Linked DNA regions of Homo sapiens: all the other regions are linked to region 4. Evidence: promoter capture Hi-C in 16 types of primary human blood cells and fetal thymus (Javierre and others, 2016). All regions are on one chromosome and are shown on one strand. Each heading gives the region's core, a stretch centred on a gene start or on the middle of the fragment in contact. The rest is flanking DNA. Distances are from core to core; before and after follow the strand shown.

What was found. The method cuts DNA at HindIII sites, captures the fragments that hold promoters and counts their contacts. A CHiCAGO score of 5 or more calls a contact.
Region 1: a fragment that was not itself captured here is called in contact with the fragment with the promoter of ZNF487 in region 4 in 1 of 17 cell types (neutrophils); the score reaches 5.3 in neutrophils.
Region 2: a contact is called between a fragment that was not itself captured here and the fragment with the promoter of ZNF487 in region 4, in 5 of 17 cell types (neutrophils, activated CD4 T cells, monocytes and 2 more). The highest score is 10.4, in neutrophils.
Region 3: a fragment that was not itself captured here is called in contact with the fragment with the promoter of ZNF487 in region 4 in 2 of 17 cell types (monocytes and neutrophils); the score reaches 5.9 in monocytes.

Annotation. Positions count from the first base shown.
Region 1 is chr10:43,097,117-43,099,816 of GRCh38, forward strand. All of the region lies in intron 1 of RET (ret proto-oncogene), which reads left to right. Among named protein-coding and RNA genes, the nearest start is that of RET, 21 kb to the left of the region's middle. The HindIII fragment of the contact is 1,340 bases long and covers 589-1,928 here.
Region 2 is chr10:43,156,022-43,158,721 of GRCh38, forward strand. CSGALNACT2 (chondroitin sulfate N-acetylgalactosaminyltransferase 2) reads left to right here. Exons shown (of 8, transcript NM_018590.5): 3 at 2,694-2,700. Among named protein-coding and RNA genes, the nearest start is that of CSGALNACT2, 19 kb to the left of the region's middle. The HindIII fragment of the contact is 6,189 bases long and covers 1-2,700 here.
Region 3 is chr10:43,121,024-43,123,723 of GRCh38, forward strand. It overlaps RET (ret proto-oncogene), which reads left to right. Exons shown (of 20, transcript NM_020975.6): 16 at 923-993; 17 at 2,648-2,700. Among named protein-coding and RNA genes, the nearest start is that of CSGALNACT2-DT, 16 kb to the right of the region's middle. RefSeq lists enhancers at 1-2, 113-232, 983-1,032. The HindIII fragment of the contact is 4,320 bases long and covers 1-2,700 here.
Region 4 is chr10:43,435,795-43,438,494 of GRCh38, forward strand. It overlaps ZNF487 (zinc finger protein 487), which reads left to right and starts at 1,317. Exons shown (of 4, transcript NM_001355444.3): 1 at 1,317-1,468. RefSeq lists an enhancer at 772-841 and a silencer at 942-1,601. The HindIII fragment of the contact is 37,036 bases long and covers 1-2,700 here.

The sequences.
Region 1 (2,700 bases), core at 9-2,508, 340 kb before region 4:
CAGGAAGGCCCGTTCTCCCCTGCACATGTGGGCTTTGTGGTGGGGGCTTTGGGAAGCCCAGGCCTGTCCTACCTCTAGTCCCTGGACCACTAAAGGTGCTTGCACATCATGGAGGCCCCAGAGGAGCACCTGTGGGATTCCCAGACTGGATCTGCTCCTGCGACAGATGGGGTGCCAGGGCCCTACCCACTCTTCTGCAGCCTGGGCATCACCAGAGCCACCCCACGGCCACCCAAGGGCAAATGGTTCTTATTGGGAAGACCAGGGCCAGAGGTGTGTGTCCCAGAGAAAACTAGACCCAGCTGAGCTGCATTGCCTCTCCCCACCTGAGCTCAGCCAACCCCTAGCATCCTCTCTGGGGTAAGAACATGGACCCCACTGCCTGCATGGATAGCCCAGACATAGGATGCCACATGGGATTGGGAGGGGGCTCATCGGGGCCAGGGCATCTGGACCCTCCTCGCCCTGTGAGGCCACTATGAGTTACAATCTCTCACCCTCTGTCGCCAGAAATGCAGCACCCCCTCCCACCCCGAGGGCACTGTCATGGGAGCAGTGTTCCTGATGTACAGTGAGCACTTCAAGAGAAGCTTTCTCCTGTTCTATTTTCCCACTGTGGGACTCCAGACGTCTCACCTGTTCTCTTCCAGGCTCCCCTTGGCACTTGATTGTTTCCCCCAGGTGTGTCCTGGAGGAGCCCAGCGGCCCTGGGGGCGTTCTCAACTGCTGCTGCAGGCCCCGCCCTCCAGACCCCTCAGCGACCTCAAGCAGCAACCGTCTGGGTGGGAGCAAACTGATCAAAAAGAGAGATCGATTACATACAAGTGCAGTATTCCTAATGTGTCCTTTGGATGTTGGTATTGTTTGGGCATTCTAGAGTCTATTTGCAGGTTCTTAATGGATTTTAAGCATTTTTTGCCTATTTATCCATCTTTTTAAAAATTCATACGATTTTTTATTGTGGAAAAATATACACAAAAATGATTTACAATGTAACTATTTTTAAGTATACATTTCAGGGACATTAAGTACATTCACATTGTTGTACAGCCATCACCACCTCCGTCCCTGAACTTTTCATCTTCCCAAACTTAAACTCTGTCCCTATCAAACACTAACTCCCCATCCTGTCTCCCCCAAGCCCTAGCAATCACCATCCTATGTTGTGTCTGTGAATTTGACTACTCTAGGGATCTCACATAAGTGGAATCGTGCAGTGTTCATCCTTTTGCAATGGGCTTATTTCACTTAGCATAATGTGCTCAAGGGTTATCAGTGTTATAGCCTGTGTCAGGATTTTCCTCCTTTTTTTTTTTTTTTTTTTGAGACAGGTCTTGTTCTGTTGTCCAGGCTGGAGTGCAATGGCACAATCTCGGCTCACTACAACCTCCGCCTCGTGGGTTCAAGCCATTCTCCTGGCTTAGCCTCTCAAGTAGCTGAGATTATAGGCGCCCGCCTTCATGCCCAGCTAATTTTTGTATTTTTAGTAGAGACGGGGTTTCACCATGTTGGCTAGGCTGATCTTAAACTCCCGACCTTAAGTGATCTGCCCACCTAGGCCTCCGAAAGTATTAGGATTACAGGCGTGAGCCACTGCGCCCGGCCAGATTTCCCTCCTTTCTAAGACTGAATATTCCATTGTATGTATAGACCATGTTTTGTTCATCCATTCATCCATTGATGGCCACTGAGGTTGCTTCCACCTTTTGTCTATCGTGAATAGTGCTGTTGTGAACATGGGTGTGTAAATATCTATTTGAGACTTGGCTTTCAATTCTTTTGCGTATGTACCCAGAAGTGGGATTGGTAGATCATATGGTAATTCAATTTTTAAGTTTTTGGGAACTACCTTCTTGTTTTTCATGATAACTGTATATTATTTTCCATTTTCACCGACAATGTACATGAGTTCCAAAAACTATTTTAAAAGCTTTCCACTGTGGGAAATGTTGGCCACACACAGTCAGCAGCATAGTGCACCGTGCCCCTGCTTGGGCTCACTCAGCCACAGCCGAGGCTAGCATCCTGCCTTCTTCAAGGAAGCTACGCCTCTGTCCACAGCGCCTTCAGTGATTCATTTTTCAGTTATTTAGGTAAAAATTACATAGATAGGCCGGGCACGGTGGCTCATACCTGTAATCCCAGCACTTTGGGAGGCAGAGGCGGGCGGATCGCCGGAGGTTGAGAGTTCGAGACCAGCCTGACCAACATGGAGAAACCCCATCTCTACTAAGAAAATACAAAATTAGCTGGGCATGGTGGTGCATGCCTGTAATCCCAGCTACTGGGGAGGCTGAGGCAGGAGAATCGCTTGAACCCGGGAGGTGGAAGTTGTGGTGAGCCAAGATTGCACCATTGCATTCCAGCCTAGGCAACAAGAGCAAAACTCCATCTCAAAAATAAATAAATAAATAAATAAATAAATAAATAAATAAATAAATAAAAATTACATAGATAAGATGCACGGACCTTAGCTGCACAATACTGACAAACGAATATGCCCACGTGATCTGCACCCTTCTCAGGATATGGGACCTTCACATTCCCCAGAAAGTGCCCTGTGGCCCTTCCCAATCTGTCCACCTCCCCCACACCCCCGCCTGCCACAGGCAGCCAGTCTGATCCATTGCCTAACATCCGTCCAGAATCATGCCATGTGCGCTCTTCTCTGCCTGGCTTCCTCACCTTGGCATGGTTTGT
Region 2 (2,700 bases), core at 51-2,550, 280 kb before region 4:
AAAAAGGTATGAGATCATAATAAAAATGGAGAATAAGGACTAGGGAAATAGAATAAAACAGCTCTTGTTGCATGTGTATGATTTATATTCCTCACTTACCTGATCTTGGTGTTCTTTTTTATGTTTTTAAAAAATGTGTAAACTAAAACTCAAAACTTGAAAACCATTTGATAAAGGAAAGAAAAAATTAGTAGACTCTTAGCTATTTTTCGTATTGGAGGAAGGAGAAGCTCATGTCTGAACAAGGGGTTATACATAGTTTAAAAAGCACATTTGGCATTTGGAAAAGTAAGGAAATACCTGTTTTCCTAATACATATTTCAGAAAGGGTATGGAATTTTTATGTATCAAGATGGGATGTGACTCAGAGGTTGAAGAACACTGCTATAAAATTTAAGATATTGATTGATATTAACAGTAATAATTCTAGATCCCTACCCATCTCCTTTACACTCACTGCTAGACATTTAATTGCTGACTTAAACCATTTTAAAAATAAATGTTTCTTGAAAGTTCTCTTTGCTTGATTCTATAAACTGTGTTATCACAGTGGTCCCCAGCCTTTTTGGCACCAGGGACTGGTTTCATGGGTGACAATTTTTCCATGGGATGGTGAGGATGGTTTTGGGATGAAACTGTTCCACCTCAGATCATCTGGCATTAGTTAGATTCTCATAAAGAGCGTGCAGTGTAGATTCCTTGCATGTGCAGTTCACAACAGAGTTTGCTCTACTTTGAGAATCCAGTGCAGCCACTGATCCGACAGGAGGCGGAGCTCAGGCGGTAATGCTTGCCAGGCTCCCATCACTCACCTCTTGCTGTGCCGCCTAGTTCCCAACAAACAGGCCACGGACCAGTAGCGGTCTGTGGCCTGGGGGTTAGGGACCCCTCGTATAGCACATGTAGACTTTTTGACTCCAAATCATCATGGCCATCACTTGCTGCACTGTAGCATTATTATAATACACTGAGGCCCTTGGAGGCCATCAGGGAGGGCATTATGCTTTGCAGTGGCATTGCAGCTGCCTTTCCTTGTGGCCTCCTCTTTTTTCTGCTGTCACTTCCTGCCATTTTTGATGGATTATTTTTCTCAAAACTCTTCTGATTTTTCTGCAAGCTCAGCTTTTTGTCTTCTCACTGTATGTTTGTAGCTTATGGCAGAATTGGAAGCTGCGGAGGAAATAAGATAACTAAGTAACATGTGTAAAATGTCCTCACATCAGCTCTACCTAAAAAGAAAGGGAGCTGTGCCAGTTTTATATTCTGCAGCTCCTGCTTTTGTCTTATAACTCTCCTTGGATTCTGATACTTCAGGATTTTTCTCTAAATGGAACATATTCTGTTCCTCACTTTTCCTCTACTGTGCCACTGTCTGCCCACTGCAGGGAGAATAATTACTAATAATTAGTAATGACAACTAATTCCTATCCCTCTTCTAAACTTTAGCTCAGATATCACTTCTTCTGAGAAGTCATCTGCAACCTCAGGTCTAAGACAGCAGTACTTCTGTGTGCTCTTGTCACCTGTACATTCATACTGCTTGTCACAGTATGTGGCATTGCCCATTTCCTGGTTTGTGCTTCCTACTAAAGTGTAAGCCTCAGGAGGGTTGGGACCAAGTCTATTTTATTCACCATTTTATACCCAGATATTTACTGAGTGACTCACACATCTGTAGGTCTAACCTTCTTCTCTCTCCTGAGCGCCATACTTAAAAATCAGATTGCCACTGGGCGCAGTGGCTCACTCCTGTAATCCCAGCACTTTGGGAGGCCGAGGTGGGCAGATTATGAGGTCAAGAGATCAAGACCATCCTGGCCAACATAGTGAAACCCCGTCTCTACTAAAAATACAAAAATTAGCTGGGCGTGGTGACACACGCCTGTAGTCCCAGCTACTTGGGAGGCTGAGGCAGAAGAATTGCTTGAACCCGGGAGATGGAGGTTGCAGTGAGCCAAGATTGCACCACTGCACTCCAGCCTGGTGACAGAGTGAGACTCCGTCTAAAAAAAAAAAAAAAAAAAAAAATCAGATTGCCTCGTAGATGCGCATGCTTTTCTCTCAAAGGCATCTCAAATCACTGTGTTTAAATCTGTACCAATTTTTCTTTGACTTCACTCTAGTCAGTGATTTTATATGTATGTATGTATACACACATATATATATACAGATATATATATATATCACATAGCACTATATTGTTATTATTTGTCTATTTTTCTGTCTCCTTCACTAGACTGGCCCTGTCCTCAAAATTGAGACCATGTGGCACTCTTTGTATCACATAACTGACACGAAGGCACTCGATTTCTTTTAGTTGACCTAAACCAATAGAAATTTTGGCTCTTGGGTCTAGATTTTAATATTGCTAGAAGTAATTTCTTTATTTATCATGATTACCATATTGATAGGCTCTAGTATTTTTAAAAAGTCGTATGTAAAAAGGAACAATTGTCATTTGTAGTATATTTTATAGATTGAATAAAATAACAGAACAGTGAACTTTTTTTTTAACCTTTTCTTTTAAGCGAGTAATTGTTACTGTGCAGTGGGGATAAGTATTTTCACAAATAGGTAAAAATCCTGCAGGTCTAGTTTAATACCCTTTATGTTTAAGTGAGTAAAATCTGTCTTCCCATTGAATTTGTAAACTTTGACATGGAGACGTCTTTGTTCCTAACTCTTTCCTTTAGGTTATTA
Region 3 (2,700 bases), core at 201-2,700, 310 kb before region 4:
GGGTTGTGAGCTGTTCCGTTTCTTCTGGGGTTTCCCTTGTGACAGCAGATCTCAGAACTGCTGTGGGGGGAAGTGGTAGGGGCTGGCCCCTGCCCTGTGGAGGGTGTGGACAGAGCCTTCCTGTTGATGCACTGGTCCTCCAGGGAGAGAAGCTGAAGGCATTCTTATACAAGACGTGCAGGCTACACTGTCACACACTGCTGCCAAGACAGCCACACTGCACTAAGGACATAAATCCCTCATGTGTTTAAGTAAAAGAAGTGACAGTAAGATTGTGTTCCAACCCAAGGCACACATTTTAAAAATGGACTTGCACCTTCAGGCTTGTCTGTGGAGAAGCTGTTTCTCAAGTCACCCTGGAAAGGATTTGTTAGGTCAGACCCCAGCACTGATGAGGGATGTAGGGGGCTGGGGGCACTCATTCAGAGATGCTAAAAGCACCCTGCAATACAATAAGAGAGAAAAAACAGCCTCCCCCAAGGCACACAGACAAATCCCTTCCCTCAAGGCTCCTTCAGTGTGGTAGCTGCTGGCAAAGTGCCCAACATGGAAATGCTAGATGTTGGTTTCCCAAACACATTGGCCCTCAGAACCCCAGGGGAGATCTTGCAGGGGGAGTTCCAGGCCCATGCATAGGGAAGCACTGCTCTGCACTACCAGCAGGCCTGTGGCATGTGACAAGCTGGCCCTGTGTGCCTGTGGGTGGGCAGCTGACTCCCGCCAGCATCTCAGCAATCCACAGGAGGTTCAGGCTGGAGCTCCAGCCCCTTCAAAGATGTGTGTGGCCAGTTCTGTGCCCAGGAGTGTCTACAGCACTCCTCTGGTTACTGAAAGCTCAGGGATAGGGCCTGGCCTTCTCCTTTACCCCTCCTTCCTAGAGAGTTAGAGTAACTTCAATGTCTTTATTCCATCTTCTCTTTAGGGTCGGATTCCAGTTAAATGGATGGCAATTGAATCCCTTTTTGATCATATCTACACCACGCAAAGTGATGTGTAAGTGTGGGTGTTGCTCTCTTGGGGTGGAGGTTACAGAAACACCCTTATACATGTAGTGGGGCCACGACGCCCGTCTGTGCAGCTTGGCCAGGGAATTGCACTGGCCCTGAGCACCTGTCTGCAGTGCTAGCCCTCTGCAATGACCCCCTCACTGAGGGGCCTTCATGATGTGTTCGTGAGGCAAATGGCTGGGCCAGGCCGGGCTGCAGTTCTGAAAGCTCCGGTAGAGCATGAGAGCCGAGCAGGTGGCCAGTAACCCAGCCTCCCCCACCCTTGCTAGTCCCATGCCTCCCTCTGGGTCCCTTGGTGACTCAGGCCCAGCCCAGCAGTTACCCTCCTGTGGTCCTGAGTAGGGCTTTGGGCTCAGGCAGAGCACCCAGTGACTTGCCCCCACCCACAAGTGGAGCTTGGGGACTCCACCTGAAGATGGCCTTGTGTGAGTTTATAGATTGGTGTGCCCCAAACTGCTCAAAGGTGGAAGCCAAAATCTCATTCTTCCAGGTCCAATGACAAGAGCTGATCACTTTTAAAACACAGGATTCTTGCCTCTAAAGTGTTCTACAGTCAGCAGAGGTGTGATGTGCCTCTCTTTTTTTGTGGGGGGAGGGGATAGGGTCTCACTCTGTCACCCAGGTTGGAGTGCAGTGGCGCAATCCTGGCTCACTGCAACCTCCACCTCCTGGGTTCAAGCGATTCCTGTGCCTCAGCCTCCTGAGTAGCTGGGATTACAGGCACGTGCTACTTCGCCTGGCTCATTTTTTTGTATTTTTTGGTAGGGACAGGGTTTCACCATGTTGGTCACACTGGTCTTGAATCCTGACCTCAAATGATCCACCCACCTCAGCCTCCCAAAGTGCTGGGATTACAGGCGAGAGCCACCACGCCTGGCCAACATGTGCATCTTAAATACTGTGGGCTGTGAATAAGCAATTGGACAACAGCTTTCCGATTATATAAGCTGACTGTAGGCTAGTTGGAAAAGGCAGAGAAAAGCATAAAGAAGAGACTGAATGTCATTGGACCACACCGCCCAGTGACCTCTGGCTGCCCTCTGGTGTGCTCCGTGGTGTGCACATGTATGCTTTTTATTGCCCTAAATGGGCTCATGCGATGCTGTTTTGTGATATGATTTTGTTCCCATTGCAAAGCGAGTTTTCCTTCACAGTTAAAATGTTTTTCTATAGCTTTTTTTCCTTCTAAGATTTTATGAAATTTTCCAAGCACATAGAAATGGCAAAAGAACTATACAAGGCACTCTGAGTCTGGTGGCCTGCATTCTCACCGCTTTAAGTGTGAGAATCTTAAGAATTATTAAGATTAATTCATGATATTAATTAATGTATCATTAATTCATTAATCATGAATTCATCTTAAGCCTCATGTGTCCCTTGTGCGTGTGGCTGCTCTGATGGGAGTGGCTTGGGCAAGGACTTCAGCTTCATGGAGTAGGGGCCAGGCAGGCAGGCAGCCCTTCCCCACCTTCATGCTACATCCATCTGAGCAGCCAGACCCAGGCTGACATCTGTGAGCATCTGTGCTTGAAGCCGACAGGGTCAGCAGGTGCTTGGTGGTGGGGGTGGATATCTGGGCCCCCCGGAGGGCTCTGTGAGGGCCAGGTGGAGCCACTCACTGGTCCTTTCACTCTCTGCAGATGGTCTTTTGGTGTCCTGCTGTGGGAGATCGTGACCCTAGGGGGAAACCCCT
Region 4 (2,700 bases), core at 67-2,566:
GATCAAGACCAACCTGGCTAACACGGTGAAACCCCGTCTCTACTAAAAATACAAAAAATTAGCCGGGCGTGGTGGCGGGCGCCTGTAGTCCCAGCTACTCGGGAGGCTGAGGCAAGACAATGGCGTGACCCTGGGAGGCGGAGCTTGCAGTGAGCTGAGATCGCGCCACTGCACTCCACCCTGGGTGACAGAGCGAGACTCCGTCTCAAAAAAAAAAAAAAAAAAAAAAAAAAAGAGTTCGACACCAGCCTGGCCAAAATGGTGAAACCCCATCTCTACTAAAAACAAAAAAAATTAACCGGGCGTGGTGGCGGACGACTGTAATCCCAGCTACTCGGGAGCCTGAGGTAGGAGAATCACTTGAACTCGGGAGGCGGAGGTTGCAGTGAGCCAAGATCGCGCCACTGCACTCCAGCCTGGGCAACAAGAGCGAAACTTCGTCTCCAAAAAAAAAAAAAAAAAAAAGGACAACTTTTGATCCCTGAGGCTGCTAATTCCAACTGTGTGCATGTGCTTAACAAATACCTCCGCACCCAGGCCTGGGAAGTTGGCTGATTTGTGTACAGCAAATACGGCAGGCCTGATGTAGCAGAACTCTGACGAAAACGAACTGGACGCGTATTTCTCCTGCAGCGAAGGTCACGCTGCTGACAGCCTCTGCTTTGCACTTTGTCCCTGGGAAGGAGGCCTGTGGCCAGTCCTACCTCCTGGAAAGCCGGGGTGCGTCAGAGGACCTGATGCGGAGCGGGGACCCCATCCTCTCCGTGTCTCCCCAAGAGCCGGCGGCAGAGGCTGCCTGCGCTCCTTAAGCTAGGTCAGTTCTCTGGCCCGCAGTTCTCGTTCTCCTAACATCCTCCGCAGAAAACGACCTTCATTTTTTCCTCTTGCGCCAGTCTTGAAGCGGGGCGTCCTTTGGGCTCACGTTGCGGCGCCCAGCGGCCTCAAGCGTCAGCTGCCTCCAGGGCCTCAGGAGCAGTGGCTAGGGCCTGCCCTCCAGCGCCCGGGGTCCTCGGCCCAGCCCTGCTCCGAGCGCGTCACAATGGCGTCGCGGCCCCGCCCCCGGACGCCCAGCCGCGGTCCCAGCGACCTTCGCTTTCGTGGGGAAGCCGGACTGCGCCGTGTCTTCCTGAAGAAGGCTGGGGTAAGAGTCCGGCCAGCGGACAAGAGGGCAGCTGGTAGCAGGGTGGGATGCCCGTGGCATAGGGCCGAGCCCCCGCTAGGCACGCGGGAGCAGCAAGGCTTCCGGAAGCGCAGGGAGCGCTGGACTGGCGGGCGCCCGGGATTCGCGCAGGCCCCGCCCCTCGGCGGCCCCGCCCAGGGAGCGCTGCGGCAGTTTCCATGGTGAGATGGTCAACAAGCCTGTAAGTTCCTCAGCTACGACTACCAGGTACCTCGGGTTCCTCCCTCCTCCGAGAGACCGCCGAGGTGCGGGCTGTGAGAGGGGGAGCGTGGAGCCTCCGAGGCCGAGGTGAGGGGCGGCCGGCGGGCAGGGGCCGGGTCTGAGGTCGAGGGCCGCACACCCAGGATCGAGCGGGGACTGGGCCCGCTGGGGGTGGGGACCGTGGGGCTGGGATTTGGGATCAGGGCGAGTCGTGGCAGAGAGAACCCGGAGGATCTTTGACCCCAGTGCGGGAGCGGCCAGCCCACCCTAGAGAAGCGAGACAAGGGCAACCAGAAGGAACCGAGTCTGAGGAAGCGCTTCCTCTGGGCAGGGATATTGGGAGAGTCCTGGACGAGTGACCCTGGACCTAGGAGGCATGAGAGGTCTACACACACTTGCAAGGATACCTTCATGATTGTTGAGTTGTGGTGAGAAAAGAGGCTCTTTTTAGTTTATTTTTTAAGGCAGTACATTCACATCCTTAAGAGTCAGAAACTTGCACAAGGCCTTATTACTCAAAACTCCCTTTTCCCAGTTCCTTCTGAGGAAATAGTTGCAAATCTTTGAACTTTTTTCCTCCGGAAATTTTCTTTTTTTCTCTTACATCGGCAGCTCTTCACTGTGTTCTTCCTTCATTAGCTTTACTAAGTTTGTATTCTTTGGTTGGAAATATTTATTTATTTATTTATTTATAAATAGAAACAGGGGTATCACTATGTTGCTCAGGCTGGTCTTGAACTCCTGGGCTCAAGTGATTCTCCTGCTTTAGCTTTCCAAAGTGCGGGGATTACAGGCTGAACCACCGCCTGCCACCGAAATATTTCTTCATTGAGTTCCTTTGCCTCCTAGTGTTACTTTTCTGCTGTGTGTGTAATAGCCATTTGTTTTTTCTTTCTCCTTTCTGGTCATATCCTTAAATACATTTTGCACTAATTCCTTTTGAAACCTCATCATGGAGAGAACTTGAATTTAGCAGATTAGGGGTGAGTGCAGGCTTTTGTCTTAGGTTCCATATATATATATATTTTGAGGTGGAGTCTCCCTCTGTCGCCCAGGCTGGAGTGCAGTGGCGTGATTTTGGCTCACTGAAACCTCCACCTCCTGGCTTCAAGCAATTCTCCTGCCTCAGCCTCCCAAGTGACGAGGGTTACAGGCACGTGCCACCACACCCGGCTAATTTTTGTATTTTTAGTAGAGACAGGGTTTTGCCTTGTTGGCCAGGCTGGTCTCGAATTATTGACCTCAGGTGATCCACCTGCCTCAGCCCCCCAAAGTGCTGGGATTACAGGCGTGAGCCACTGCACCCAGCCCCCATATAT